Linked DNA regions of Homo sapiens: regions 1 and 3 are each linked to region 2. The links are contacts of gene promoters, found by promoter capture Hi-C in blood cells and fetal thymus (Javierre and others, 2016). All regions are on one chromosome and are shown on one strand. Each heading gives the region's core, a stretch centred on a gene start or on the middle of the fragment in contact. The rest is flanking DNA. Distances are from core to core; before and after follow the strand shown.

Region 1 (2,879 bases), core at 32-2,531, 490 kb after region 2:
AACCCAGACTGTTTCTCAGCAAATATTTGTTAATCAAAATTATTCTGTGGGGGCCATATTAAACTTATGGCCTTGTATTAATAAAATATGTACCAACTAATTGAAAGAAAGTTGTCCCAGAAGAAAAACATGTGTCAAAGTTCTCTTCACCTAGGATGGAAATCTATATAGAATGGTAAATATTGACCTAGACAAAGAAAATTTAGTCTTTCTTAAATCTAAGTTAGCTTAAAATAAAGTAAGAGGATTATTCTAAACTCATCCTGGGTATTGTCCACTACCAAAACAGCTTGAACAAGATTTAGGAATAAATTGTTTCTTTAAGAGAATAAATTATTTACCTGCAAACTAAAAGTAAATATTCAGATGCAACATAAAGAAAAAAACAAAATTTCTCAACACCCAAAATAAGGAAAATAATTCATCAGTACCATCCTGGAGAACTGAAAACAATTTTGCAACATTTATTGGGGGGTGGGGATGGGATTTTTTTTTGTGGCCATTATATTCATCATAGAAAAAAATGAAAAATATAGTAAAATACTAAGGACATAATCATCCATGATTTGTAAATGGTTAAGACTCTCTTTCTACTGTAGGCAGCCGTAAAACCCAATTCAAATTGCTTTAGCATAAAGGGAATCTCTTGGCTCCTAAAACTGAAAAGAGCAGGGTTTGAACTAATTTCAGGTGCCACTTGATCTGAGGTCAAATGGTGTCACCAGCTCCAGATTTCTATCTTGCCTCCTCTGACTCTGCTGTCCATGAGGCTCATTCCATTCCCAGTCAGACTGTCTCTTCAGGGTGGCTGGGCTCAGGACACATTAACCCAAAATATGGCACATTGGCATTTGAGAAAACAGCAGAAGCAGAAAGGTTTCTCTCATCTTCCCCTTGTTCTTCTCCTGTGAAGCAGATCATAAGACCCCCATTCTAGGGGTGCCCTCCCTATACCTGGAGGAAAGACACATCCTCATCTCTGAAGACATAAGGACACAGAGAAGAATCTGAGTAAGCAGGCCTTGCTAAGTCCCCTCAGTTTATTACCATTAGATCACATTTCCTTGGTCCACTCATACTTTTCACCACTGTGCACCTCTTCATTCAACCTAAGCATAAAAATACACAGGTTTTCCTAACTCTTTGAGTCTTAATTTCTAAAGGCTCTCATAAAGCTTTTATTAAATAAATTTCTATGCTTTTCTCTTGTTAATCTTTTATATAGGTGCCTCATCCATGAACCTACTAATGGGTGAGGAAAGAAATCTTTTCTCCCCGACAGAGACTGCAGTGTGACTGTACTGCAAAAATGCCAGTACTGTCTTACCTCCAACTCCACATCCCATGGGAAAGGCTCTGCAGCCTTGATGGCTGAAACCAAAGCTTTGGCAATGAGATGTGTTGGTTCAGGGCCTGGCCCTGAGTCCTCCCCTAGCTCAGTGTGCCAACAGACTGGGGGAACCAGGGGTGGAACCCACTTCCCAGACCACAAGGGCTACAAGTAGTGGAGACCTTGATACCATTAGTGAGACTGGGGGCTAAAGCCTGAAGGAGAAAGAATGGGGATGGGAGCCAAACCACAAATGTCTGCTACCATACCACCATCACTGGAGGATAACAACCATTGACATGTTGTTATATGTATGTGTGTAAGAAATTAGAGCAGTTATGTGCCCACCAAAAATGTACAACAATGGCATATCAATTTAAGAATGTTAGAAAGAAATTAGAGCATTTAAAAATGGATGTATAGTCTTCTCCTTTTACTTTATAATGTACAAAAGGCATCATTATGTGAGAAGAAAGTACCTTTAATTTGACAATTAGCACATAGTCCAAATATCATAGATTCAGTAGAGCTAAGTTAAAATTTAAAATCAAGGTCAGGAACATGTGAAAGACCTAGGGAAAAAAAAGTTGGAAAAAGAATTCAAGTTCATGAATTTTGCATCTGAGAGTCAGAGCTACTAATCTATCAAATACTTTGCTTATAGCATCGGAGCAAACTGTTCACGAGTAATTTTAACAAGTTTTTCTTAATTCATTCAAGGGGTAAGTATAATGAAAACTAAAGTAGGGTTACAGACAGGCCAGAATCGAATGACAGAATAAGCATGATGAGTTATCTGTATTCATTTTACATGACTGATACATTGAAAATTTTCCTCAGTCAAAAACAACTTCCATATGATATCATGCTGGTCAGGGATGGTAGCAACTGATACTAAGTATTGCAGGAAAAGAGTTGGTTAGAAAAGTCAGTTTCACATTAAAATGGCAATGTAGCAAACATACATGCATCTGGTTAAGATTTATTAAGAATAAAACATCTAGCAGAAGAGGAAGTTTCCACCAATGCTATTAACCATGCATATTTGATTTCATCTTCAATGCCATGACTGTCACACTGCATTTATTACTTAGACGATCTCATTACTTTTCCTATACTTCCTTCCTTTCATTGAATTTTGTGATCTTATAACCCATGACATGTAGCACTCACACCATACTACAGTGATATGTGCTAGATGTATACGTATGACAAAGTTCTGTGATCAAAGAACAACAAGATCTGTCATCCTCCAGATACTGCAGTCAGGGTCAGTTCTCAATTATTTCTCCTTGGGAACAGGGTTATGTTTACTATTGCTATTACTAAATATTTATGTGACAAATGAGATGCTCAAAAGTCTCCAAACAACTTTTATGTGTCATCTTCTCAAAGGCTTGCCTTGATGGAATGACATTCCTACGCACATTTTGCAAAAGGACAGCTAAGTCAACATCAATGGGCACATCAAAACCAGGAGGCAGCCATGACTTCAGGACAAGGATCATGATTCCTTCCAAGAAATAGAAAACCACTGGGGACTTTGAGC
Region 2 (2,948 bases), core at 409-2,908:
TTTTGCAGGGTCATTAACTCGCATTATTTTTTTGTTCTCCACAGTTCTCACTTGCTTCTCTTCAGTCTTTGCTAGGTTTTCCGCGATCTCCAGTGCAGCCCCTTCCACTTGCCGCGATTCTGCCTCTCTCAGACACTGACACGTAACCTCCTCCCCATACCAAGCCCTCACCCCAAACCAAGCTGTTAAGAACAGCTACAACTGCTTCTGGGAGACGTGGGGGGCGGGGGCAAGGCGGGGGCAAGGCGGGGGCAAGGCGGGAGCACCTCGACCCTCCCGCGAACTCTCGCCGCCGGTCAGTGCCCCCTGAACTGGATGGGACCAAGGGAGTCCCTCCGCAAGGGCCTCCACTTCTGACTACGGTCCGCACGCCCCACCCCTGCTCAGCACCCTGGCAACCCGCGGGACGCTTTGCTGGTGCCAGGCTTCAATCTCTTGTTCTCATTTTCTCGTGTCCTCGCGCTCTTCCTTCTACTGTATTTTTGTCTTAAATTCTTTAATGGCGAGAGAGAGAAAAAAAAACAAAACCAGCTCAGAGCTATAGTCTTCTTCCACAAATACGTGTGTGCTTTTCAGAACCTTTCTCCGTCCCTTTCTCCTGCTAACACATGTGGGGTCTGCAGTGCAAAGGACTCTCCTTTCGTCCAGTGACCAAATGGCAGTCTCTCAGTTTGCCAATTTCATTCATCACGCCCGCACCGACTGAAGCCTACTCCTCACCAGTTCAGCTGTCTTCCAGTTAATTGTATTAACTGCTAAGCACCTCCTCCACCTTTTCGGGTTCTATTACCGCCCTCATTAAAAAAAAAAAAAAAAAAAAAAAAAAAAAGAAGGAAAGAAAAGAAAAGAAAAAAGAAAATCCAACACGAACACTCAAGATAGCGTGAATTCAAAAAAGAAAGTGTGCGTGTGCAACACAGTCTGAGTGTGTGCATCCGTATGCGTCGCCTGCCTCAGCCTGCCCGGGTCCTGAACATGTAGCTGAGAGGTGCAGGACAGTCAGAGGGCCAAAACTTCCCCTGCCAGGCTGAGGCTGGGCCCTCCCGAGCTCACCTGTCCGCGTTCAGGTAACTGGCTAAGTGCCCGCCCGGCCGCGTTCCAGGACACCTGGCCGGGACAGAGCGAATGCCAGTGAATCCCAGGGCGCCCTCTCCCGCGCGTTGGTTCTCTAGCCCTCCTTCCCTGGGAGGGGTGGGATTGGGAGTGTTCTGTTTTCATTACTGCACCCCTTCCCCTAAAGACAACGGGACTGCCCTCCTCCACAGCGCCTTACCTCAAACAGGGGACCGATCTTGTTCTTCTCCAGGTAAGCCTGGATCCGGGTTTGCGGATGAGACGCCATGGGGAACAGATGGGACCGCGAAGAGAGTGCAGGGAGAACGCGCGGCTGTGCGCCTCCGCTGGGGACAACCCTCCTTTTACCCGGACTGGGGCCGGGACAGGAGCTCCGGAGCCTCGGCTGCCCTGCGTGGCTGGCTCGGCCCCGGCCGCGGGCGTGGGTGGCAGCCCGGGGAGCCACGCGCGCGTGGGGCGCTGAGAGCCGGAAGCCTGGGCGCAGCGCCGCCAACTCAGACAACTCCGAGGCGAGGGGAGAACTCATTCATCGCGTTCTCCGCCTCGCGCCCACCCTCGCCGCTCTCCGCAGCGCCCGGCGCAGTGGGGAAATTCGAGGCAGAGGTTCCTTTCTCCTCTGGGCGGCAGCAGCAGGAATCAGGGGGCGGGAGGCGAGCTGTGTCGAGGGGCGCACGCGGGCGGACAGGGGCCGCGGGGCTCGAACTCGCCACCGGTGTGTGTGCGTGCGTGCGTGTGTGTGTGTGTCCGTGCGCGCGCGACTGTGTGTACCTCCTTTCCCCGGTGACGGAACAAACAGCCCGGGCTGCTCCCCGAGGCTGCTCGCCCTACCAGCCGCTCCCTAGCGACAGCGCCGCTTAAAAAGCCAATGGTGAAGGTGCTTCTTTCAAAGTGCACATAAATCTGGTGCTTGTTGGCTACTCCTTGGCAGCTACAAATGCAGTTCGAAAGGGGATCGTCCCCACCGCCCCTTCTGAGCCTCTCCTCAGCACCTTCTGCCCTGCCTACTCTAGCGCAGGGGTTGAGAAGGGCAGAGTTTTGAGAAGGTGCGTGGGTTTAAGGGTTTGCCGCGAAAAAGAAGTTGCCTTCCTTTTCAAAATCTGGTTTGGCCTGGAGCAAGTCGACGGGTGAACGCAGCCTGAGAACCCAGCTGAAAACTCTCAAAGTGCAGGAGCTCAAAGGCTGGAACCAGCCTTTCAGCATTTGACAGGGAGAAGAGAAATGAGCGAGCCAGCCCTCCCCTCCAAAGTTGGCCTTCCTAATCCACGCCTTGAGTCATGTCTGTATACCTATAACTGCATCTCAGACACCACACTATCCCACTTCATAATGTTTCCTCTAGATACTGCGTGAGCTGCTCAAATTTAGCCAATACCTTTCTTATTATGCAGGGATTTCCGAGTCGAAGGTTTGCAGATAGCCCAGGCTTCCTCACAGAGCTCTCTTTCTTGTGAAATACAATACTAAGGTCCCAATGACAATTTCCCTGGCTCCTAACCATGATGTGCTGCCAAAATTAGATTTATTTCTAATAAATATAAATTTTCAGAATGATGGAAACAGTTTTCCTAAAAGCTGACTGCAGCAGTATATATTTTTTTCTTTCTTTCTTCACTGTGTTCTGGATTTCTGTTACTCATAGTTTCTTTATTGGTGTTCATGTTTTCCTTCTGTATTTTAAATATGTGGAAACATGTAATAGATAAGTGTGGAATATCCCAGGAACTATTATTAATTTCATGCATTAAGACATAAGAAATCTGCTAGAATAGCTAGGAGCTTAACCATCCCTGATAACCTGAAATGGACTTGATCCAGAGTGGAAAGATGTCCACATTAATACTTTTACAATCGGACTCATATGATCTGCCTAGGGA
Region 3 (2,700 bases), core at 93-2,592, 380 kb after region 2:
CAGTTACTTTCACTCAGTTTTGCCCCTTCGGCCCTAAAATGAATGAGACGTTTTCAAAGCAGATGGCAGTGAGTCAAGCAGAAACGTGGAATATAAGTACATCCCCACTTCCACGAAGTCCCGAAGCTTGATTACAGCACTCTCATGGGCCATGTAAACAGGGGACCAGAAACTGAGCAGAAGACAGATTTAAGCCGGGGCGGGGGGCGGGGGGGAGGGAATTGTAAGACTAGGACAGGGTGAGCGCCACATGTGGCTTTAATATCCAACAGCTGCTAGAGATCATCACCCCGCTGCTCTCTCTGTACCCCTACACCAGAATCCTCTGTCTCAAAGACCATAACTAAAGCGGCCACTGCCATGTTATCTGAGTAACGAACTCAAGCTCGAGCACATTCAAGGATTTTTTTTAACTTAGTGTACCTGGATGTAGCCGACTGGACCTTTAATCACAAAACCAAAGCTTTAAAACAAAGTCTCCAGGAAAGAACAAGAAGGAAAATCAATTACACAGTGCACTTGAGCAGACTGGGGAGGCGGGTAAAAGAAAAGTGAGGGAAGATAGGGCAGCCGGGATTCCCTGGACTGGAGCTCTCTTCTCTAGAGCTAACTTTTCAGACCTGGAGGTCTCCAAGGCCCCCGCAACTCAGTGAGTCTCGGGGCACCAACAAATCCCCGCGGGGGTCACCGCGCCCGCGAACGCAGAGTCCACACGTGGATTCCCGCGCCTGTGATGCCCCGACCCGTCCCGGGTCCCCGCACAGACAATGCCGCGCGTCCTTCCCGCAGCCACTCCGGGACCCGCGCCCCGCGCCGCCCGGACGTCCCCCTGCGTCTGCCGGGGACACTCACCGACACCAGGAACTCCAGCGTGCCCACATAGTCCCGCTCGGTCTTCTGGAGCTCGCTGAGCACGCACACGCGCAGGCGAAGCTGCTTCTCCAGGTCCTTGGCGCTCTCGGCGCGGCTGTCTCCGCGGCTGTCCTCGCTCATGGTCGGCGGCGGTGCGCAGCGCGGCGCTGCCCGCCGTGCTGAGCGCTGACCCGCGCGCCCGCTGCTGCCCGGCCCCCGGCGGCGAGAATGGAAAGTTGCCGCCTCCGCCAACTCCGAGGAGAGACAGAAGACTTTACATGCTGGGGAGAGGCTGGGCGCAGGGAGAGGAGGGGATCGGGCTGAAATCCCGGCGCGGGGGGCGCGGGGCTCTGCAGAGGAAACTCCTGGGAGTGGGGGCTCCGGCCAGGCCCTGCGCGCCCGGCCCCGCTGCTCTGGCCTCACACGGCCGGGGCTGGAGGGGAAGCGGCTTCGGCAGCCACAGCAGTGACTTGGACATTAATCAAAAGCTTTGTATCCATGTGACTCCGACCCTTTACCCTTCGCCAAATCTCAGGAAAAAGGAAACACAACCCTGGGGAAGTACTGCGTACTGGCTAATCACACACACGCGCGCGCGCGCACACACACACACACACGCACACACACACACACACACACACACAGCAGCACTTGATATGGAACTCACAGGAGGTTCCCAATCCCAGGGACACACACTCCAAGGCGCAGCTCGAGGGTTACTCCTAAGCCTCCGCTATTGTTTAACTTTAATGTGTTTCGTACAAATCCTGAAAGCAAAGAAACAAGTCCCCACGGTTACATAACTGGATGGGAACAAAAACAACCACGGTATTGACCCTCCCTCTTTGAAAAGAAACACATTGATTTTTTGTTTCATTCAGGCACAAAACAGGTTTGCTTTTAAAACCCTCCAACTGAGAATAGTTCACAGGGCAGACACCCTCCAGTCTGAGCTTGGAAAGTCAATTAGCATAATAAATGAAGACACTATGGGAAAATGACAGCCTCTGCCCATGCAATAAACCCCAGATAAAATAAGCATCACCCTTGTACTGTGCTGTTTTCCATGTCTACAACTTTTTTCAACATCAAGATAGTATGTAAATCCATTGAGAGGCGAGGGTATTTGTGCCAGTTTTGTTTCTAAGAGCTGCTGTGATTTAAGACGGTGTCACTAATTGAAAAGATAAAGCTGTTGTTGAATGCTCATCAGAAGATAGAAAGCTAGATAGATAACGGAAATAATCTTAGATTTTTGAAGATAGACACACAGAACATTCTTGATTTTAAAGTTAAAGTTTATTGCCTTTTCTCACTTGGAAACTAAGCCTTAAATATTTCCAATACATTTAACAAACAAAACAATTTATATATTTTTTTGAATTGGTATTATACACATATATTTTCCACAGATCAACTTCAGTCTAAAACTAATGGCATTTAAATAAACTGAAGAGTGAATAGAGTTGTTGCAAGAAAGTGGTATGTTAATTTGTTGCAGTCACTGAAAGCATTAGCAAAACTCTAAAACATAAAGATGCTTTTCACTATATTTACATTAAAATAATTACCTATTGGTTTTCCAGATGATGTCTTTCCAGAGCATAGTGTGACCATTCCCCTCTGTAACCACACAAAGAAGGATTGTACTTTCTTTGTATATTAAAGATAAAATTTTCGAATGATGTACACAAAGCTGATGGGCAAGATGTGATTTTCCTCTTTCTTTTACAAATGACTATTTAGAGGTAGCCAAGAGCAAAGGGCAAACAACATAGATGGCTTCACACCCTGTGGCAGAAGAACAAAGGGCAAAGCATATTAAAGAGCAGACCTCACAGCACCTAG

What was found. Contacts are between HindIII fragments. The CHiCAGO score rates a contact against its expected background, and 5 or more counts as called.
Region 1: a contact is called between a fragment that was not itself captured here and the fragment with the promoter of C8orf34 in region 2, in 1 of 17 cell types (M1 macrophages). The highest score is 5.2, in M1 macrophages.
Region 3: the fragment with the promoter of PREX2 here is called in contact with the fragment with the promoter of C8orf34 in region 2 in 2 of 17 cell types (monocytes and M0 macrophages); the score reaches 5.1 in monocytes.

Annotation. Positions count from the first base shown.
Region 1 is chr8:67,837,830-67,840,708 of GRCh38, reverse strand. No RefSeq gene overlaps it. Among named protein-coding and RNA genes, the nearest start is that of CPA6, 93 kb to the right of the region's middle. The HindIII fragment of the contact is 208 bases long and covers 1,178-1,385 here.
Region 2 is chr8:68,329,665-68,332,612 of GRCh38, reverse strand. C8orf34 (chromosome 8 open reading frame 34) reads right to left here and starts at 1,658. Exons shown (of 14, transcript NM_052958.4): 1 at 1,274-1,658. The coding sequence starts at 1,600. C8orf34-AS1 (C8orf34 antisense RNA 1) reads left to right here and starts at 1,122. Exons shown (of 3, transcript NR_038877.1): 1 at 1,122-1,306. The HindIII fragment of the contact is 3,988 bases long and covers 1-2,948 here.
Region 3 is chr8:67,950,688-67,953,387 of GRCh38, reverse strand. PREX2 (phosphatidylinositol-3,4,5-trisphosphate dependent Rac exchange factor 2) reads right to left here and starts at 1,342. Exons shown (of 40, transcript NM_024870.4): 1 at 853-1,342. The coding sequence starts at 993. The HindIII fragment of the contact is 877 bases long and covers 466-1,342 here.